Linked DNA regions of Homo sapiens: region 1 is linked to region 2. The links are contacts of gene promoters, found by promoter capture Hi-C in human tissues and cell types (Jung and others, 2019). All regions are on one chromosome and are shown on one strand. The core of a region is centred on a gene start or on the middle of the fragment in contact, and the rest is flanking DNA. Distances in the headings are between cores, read along the strand shown.

The links. The method cuts DNA at HindIII sites, captures the fragments that hold promoters and counts their contacts. A contact is called where the count stands out against the background at its distance.
Region 1: a fragment that was not itself captured here is called in contact with the fragment with the promoter of MGAT3 in region 2 in 1 of the 25 tissues and cell types used here (spleen).

The regions. Positions count from the first base shown.
Region 1 is chr22:40,700,830-40,703,632 of GRCh38, reverse strand. No RefSeq gene overlaps it. Among named protein-coding and RNA genes, the nearest start is that of MCHR1, 23 kb to the right of the region's middle. The HindIII fragment of the contact is 6,289 bases long and covers 1-2,803 here.
Region 2 is chr22:39,455,622-39,458,321 of GRCh38, reverse strand. MGAT3 (beta-1,4-mannosyl-glycoprotein 4-beta-N-acetylglucosaminyltransferase) reads right to left here and starts at 1,310. Exons shown (of 2, transcript NM_002409.5): 1 at 765-1,310. RefSeq lists silencers at 185-314, 325-594, 1,325-1,384. The HindIII fragment of the contact is 12,980 bases long and covers 1-2,700 here.

The DNA of each region.
Region 1 (2,803 bases), core at 51-2,550, 1.2 Mb before region 2:
GGTTACTTTCTTTCTTCTTATTTTTTTTTCAACCTCTAAATCTACTTTAAACTTTCTTTGTTTCTAATAGAGATGGGGTCTTCCTATGTTGTCCAGGCTGGTCTCAAACTCCTGGGCTCAAGTGATCCTCCTGCCTTGGCCTCACAAAGTGTTGGCATTACAGGCATGAGCCACTTCAACAAGCCCAGATTACTTTCTTGTCACATGTTGCAAAACAGACCCCAGGAGGATCTGAGAACACAGAATGTATCAAGCTGAGACACAGACAAGGACACAGTGGGGATACCCATGTGACTGATCCTAGCCAATAAGTGTGTTCCACTTCTCTGGTTTTCATGCTTGATTGGGTGGAAGTGGGAAGATATGTAACTCATACAGGACCAATCAGAGGCTTATTCAGGGTTTGAAACAGACACTGGGGAGAAAGGTGGCAAGGAGTACCGGGTAGCAGGAAAGAAGATATGCTAATTCCTGGAGCTGCTGCCAGTAGGAACAAGGCAAGTTTACATGCCTGCTGGGCACCATCTTTGCTACCACTTGGGAGAACATCCCCTATGAGAAGGAAGCCAAAAGAGAGGAAAACTGAGCCAGACAGTGAGGAGAGATAAATCGTGAGGAAGAGGGTGGGCGCGGTGGCTCACGCCTGTAATCCCAGCATTTTGGGAGGCTGAGGTGGGTGGATCACAGGTCAGGAGTTCAAGACCAGCCTGGCCAAGATGGTGAAACCCTGTCTCTACTAAAAATACAAAAAAAAAAAAAAAAAAAATTAGCTGGGCGTGGTGGCGAGGGCCTGTAATCCCAGCTACTCGGGAGGCTGGGGCAGAGAACTGCTTGAACCTGGGAGGCAGAGGTTGCAGTGAGCTGAGATTGCACCACTGCACTCCAGCCTGGATGACAGAGCGAGACTCCATCTCAAAAAATAAATAAATAAAATAAAATAAAATGTGAGGAAGAGAGAAAGGGAATGTCTGTCCCGATGGCCTTGAGCCCTTGGATCCAGTCATGACTTAAAGCCAGATCTAGTCCTCAACGTTTCCCTTTAATAAGCCAATACATTCCCCCTTTTTGCTCAAATCAGAGTTAAATTTCTAACATTTACAACAACAACAAAAAAAGCTCTCACAAATCATCTTAGTCAGCTCAGGCTGATATAATAAAATACCGGGCGGCTTAAACAACAGGCATTTATTTCTCCTGATTCTGGAGGCTGGGAAGTCCCAGATCAAAGTGCCAGCCAATTGCATTCCTGCTGAGGATTCTCTTCCTGGCCAGACTTGGCCGGGTGTGGTGGTTCATGCCTGTAATCCCAGCACTTTGGGAGGCCGAGGTGGGCGGATCACCTGAGGTCAGGAGTTCAAGACCAGCCTGGCCAACATGGTGAAACCCCATCTCTACTAAAAATACAAAATTTAGCTGGGCTTGGTTGTGGGCACCTGTAATCCTAGCTACTCAGGTGGCCGAGGCAGGAGAATCGCTTGAACCCGGGAGGTGGAGGTTGCAGTGAGCCGAGATTGCGCCATTGCCCTCCAGCCTGGGCGAAAGAGGGAGATTCTGTCTCAAAAAAAAAAAGAAAGGTTACTTCAGAAAGTATAGTGAGCTGAAATTGTGCCACTGCACTCCAGCCTGGGTGACAGAGTGAGACTCCATCTCAAAAATAAATAAATAAATAAAAGACTCTTTCTGGCTTGCAGACATCAGTCTTCTGTATCCTCACAGAAGTGTGCAGGTGGAGAGAGGCAGAGGGGAAGCAAGCTTTCTGATGTCTCTTCTTATAAGGGCCACACCCTCAAGACTTCCTCTAAACCGGATCGCTTCCCAAAGACTCCATCTCCAGATACTAACACATTTGGGGGTTAGGGCTTTGTTTTGCAGCAGAGTGAGAGATCACCTCCAACCTCATGTGCCTCTTATGTGGGCTCTCAGCTATATCTAGAGACCAAATTGACACAAGGCAGAGTAGCAAGATAAAAGCATATAAGCTTTATTAGTTTTCCATGTACACAGGGATCTTCACAAGAGTGAAGTCTGAAGAAGTGGCCAAAGTAAGATGCATTTATACTTTTTCGACAAAGAACAATACATTTGAGAAGAAATAACAGGGCAAAAGGGATCTGGTTACGGGCAGTAAATTTCTAAGGGAGTCACCGGGAGATGTATGGGAGGGTATACAACCAGCAGAATAGAAAGGTCATTTCGGGCGCCAGGTGCAGTGGCTCATACCTGTAATCCCAGCACTCTGGCAGGCCGAGGCAGGCGGATCATCTGAGGTCAGGAGTTTGAGACCAGCCTGGCCAAAATGGTGAAACCCCATCTCTACTAAAAGTACAAAAATTAGCCAGGCCTGTTGGTGCATGCCTGTAATCCCAGCTACGCGGGAGGCTGAGGCAGGAGAATCTCTTAAACCCGGGAGGCAGAGGTTGCAGTGAGCCGAGATTGTGCCATTGCACTCCAGCCTGGGTGAGACAGATTCTGTCTCAAAAAAAAAAAAAAAGGAAAAGAAAATAAAGGTTACTTCATGAAGTATAGTTGTTCAGGTCCACTGCACTGCAGCCCCCAACTTCCAGTCTCTGGTGATAAGGGATATTTTCACCCCCCTGATAAGGGGAGTGTACCCCTCCCAGAGGAATCCTTATGGCTTGCTGCATGCAGGAAGAGACAGGTCAGCTCACCCTTTCTGAAACCACATTTTCTCCAAAGTTTTCTTTTTTTTTCTTTTTTTTTTTTTCTTGAGACAGTCTCACTCTGTTGCCCAGGCTGGAGTGCAGTGGCATGATCTTGGCTCACTGCAACCTCCGCCTGCTGG
Region 2 (2,700 bases), core at 61-2,560:
AGACCACTAGGTCTGGCCGCGCGGCATCCCTTCCTGCTGCACCCCAGCTCAGGAACCCCACCATACACACACCCAGGCGCACTCCCCTCCCCACTCCCGGTTCCAGAACTCACTATTTGCAGATATTTATAGCGCCCTCCCTCAGCCAGGTTCCCTCCCCCGCCCTGGGCAGAGCAATGCAAGGAGCCGGGGGCCCCCACCCCGGTAAATGGCCGGGGGCCCTCTCCACATTTGCCTCTGCCTGGTCCCCAGGGGTAGCTACGGCCGCAGCCCCCGCACCCGCCCAGCCCCCGACTGCGCTTGGGCCTCGGCTGCCGCCGCCGCAGTCTGGGGTCGGGGGTGGGGAAGGCGGGCGCGGAGGCCTCCCACCCCAGCCCCGCGCCGCGCCGGAGGTTGTGGGGGAGCCGCGCCGGAGGCTGGGGGGTGCCGCGCACAAAGCACGGCTCGAGCCCCGCGCCTCGGGGACGTCCCCCGCCCGGCCGTGGGAGGGGGTCGGGCGCTGAGGCTCTGCCCTCCGGGGACCGGGGAGCTCGGAGGAGCGGCGGGTAGGGGGAGGGGGCCCGCGCCGAGCGGCTTCCCCGGCATCCCGCCCCCACCGCGGCCTCCGGGCCCCCAGCCCCAGTGCGCCCGCGCCCGCCCCCTAAGGTCACGCTCGGGGAGTGGGCCGCGGAGCCGGGCGGGGGGCGCCAAGCGCAGCGCGGGAGGGCGGGCAGCGCGGGGATAGAGGGGCCGCGGCGCCCCCCAGGACGCCGGGGTCAACTCACCCATCGCCCGCTGGGTCTCAGCAACGGCGGCAGCAGCGGCGGCGGCGGCTCCGCGGCCCCCGGGGTCCCCGGCGGGGAGATGCTGGCGTCCGCCGCAGCCTCTCGCCCCATCCCGGGCTCCGGCGGCAGCGGCTGCGGCGGGCGCCCGGCATCGCAGGCAGCGCGGCCCCGGCCCGGCCCCGATCCCCTCCCCCCACCCCCACTTCCACCCCGTCCCGGGGACCCGGCGCGGCCGCTCGGCTGCACCCCGGGGCGGCGGCGGGGGCCCGGCGAGCGGACGGGCGCGGGGGAGGGACCGCGGCGGGCGCGCGGGGGGCGCGGAGGCGAGGCCGAGCGCGGCGCGCAGGGGTGCCCGCTCCCGCCGGCTCAAGCGGCTCCGGCCCCCACCCCGCCCCCTCCGCAACCCCCTCCCCTCCCCCGCCAGCCGGGCTCCGCCGCCGCGCCGGGCCGGGGGCGCCTCGCACCGCAGACTCCGGCCGCCGCCGCCCCGCGCCGCCCGCGCGTGCTGGATCGAGTGTGTGCGTGTGCGAGCGAGTGTGTGTGAGTGCGAGTGTGCGCGCGCCCCTCCTGTGACCGTGCGTGCGCCGGCCCACGGCCCGGGGCGGCCTGCGCGGGGGCGTGTGCGGGGAATGCGGGTAGTTCGGAGTGCGGGCCTGGTGTGCGTGCGGGGCAGCAAGTCCCGTTCTGTGTATGCGTGGACGGGTGCGTTCCGCAGCGTGCCCGGGTCGGTGTGACTCCGTGTGCCCGAGTCTGTGCCTGTGTGTGCATGGACGTGCAGATCCGTGTTGCGGTGTGTGCGTGGATGCGCCTGTGCCCGCGTGAACCTGGGCCGGGATTTCGCATAGGCATCTGTGACCATGTGCAGAGGCCTGGGCCTGTGATGTGTGCACGGTGCCGGGCCTGTTACGGTGTCTGCAGAGTCTGTGTGTCTGCTTGGGGCGTGGGTGACCGCTGTACACCGGCCTGTGTCCTTCCGTCCGACCCCCTCCGTCCCTCACATGCCCGAAGCCACCTGCGCACTCCTGGGGTAACTGGGGGGGCCTCCCCTCCCCCGCCCCCCTCACCCGGCCACCCTAGGCCCGGTCGGCCCTGCCAACCCTCTTGAGCCTACTCTCCTGCCACTTGCCCACCAGCGGTTCTCCGAGGGCCCACCGTGTCGTGCCCTGGCTCCTCGTGGCCTTGCTCTAGGCCATTCCTCTCAGGGCTCAGAGGCGTCCCCCACGTGTTTCCCGCCTTTCAAGTGGTTCCGTTCTGGGGCCTACAGAGCAGCCACTTCCTCCCGCGGTGCGAGGCACAAGGCATTGTGGGTACGCAGCAGACATCTCTGCGCCGCCATCGTCGAAGGTGCAGGGATGCGCTACCTATTCTATATCCCAGCGAATGTGCTCCAGAATAGTCCCAGAGGCCTTTGCTGAACCATCCGGGCTGCCTAGGGCTGGTCTACCTGCTCCAGGTGCCTCCGTGCCCAGCTTCATCCATCCTTGCTGAGGAGGCAGAGTGATCCTACTCCAACATTCACTTGAGCAGGTCACTCTCCTGCCTGCACCTTCAATGGCTCCCACTTGCCCTCAGCTTAAGTTCAGTGCCTGGGCGGGGCACAGGGAGCCCCTGGTGACCTAGTCTTGCCCCCTTCTTCAACGTCACCCTCACTGCTCTTTTCTTCCTGGAGGCTCTCTCTAAGCAAGGGTGGGCAAACCATTTGCTTTAAGAGATTGATTGTAAATCTTTTAGGCTTTGCCAGCCATATGGTCTCTGTCCCAACTACTCAACTCTGCCATCGTAGCATAAAATCAACCATAGACAATACGTAAAAGAATGAGCCTGGCGGTGTTCCAATAAAACTTTATGGACACAAAAATTTGAATTTCGTGTCATTTTCACGTGTCCAGAAACATTTTTTGATGTTTTCCCAACCATTTGAAAGTGTAAGATCCAT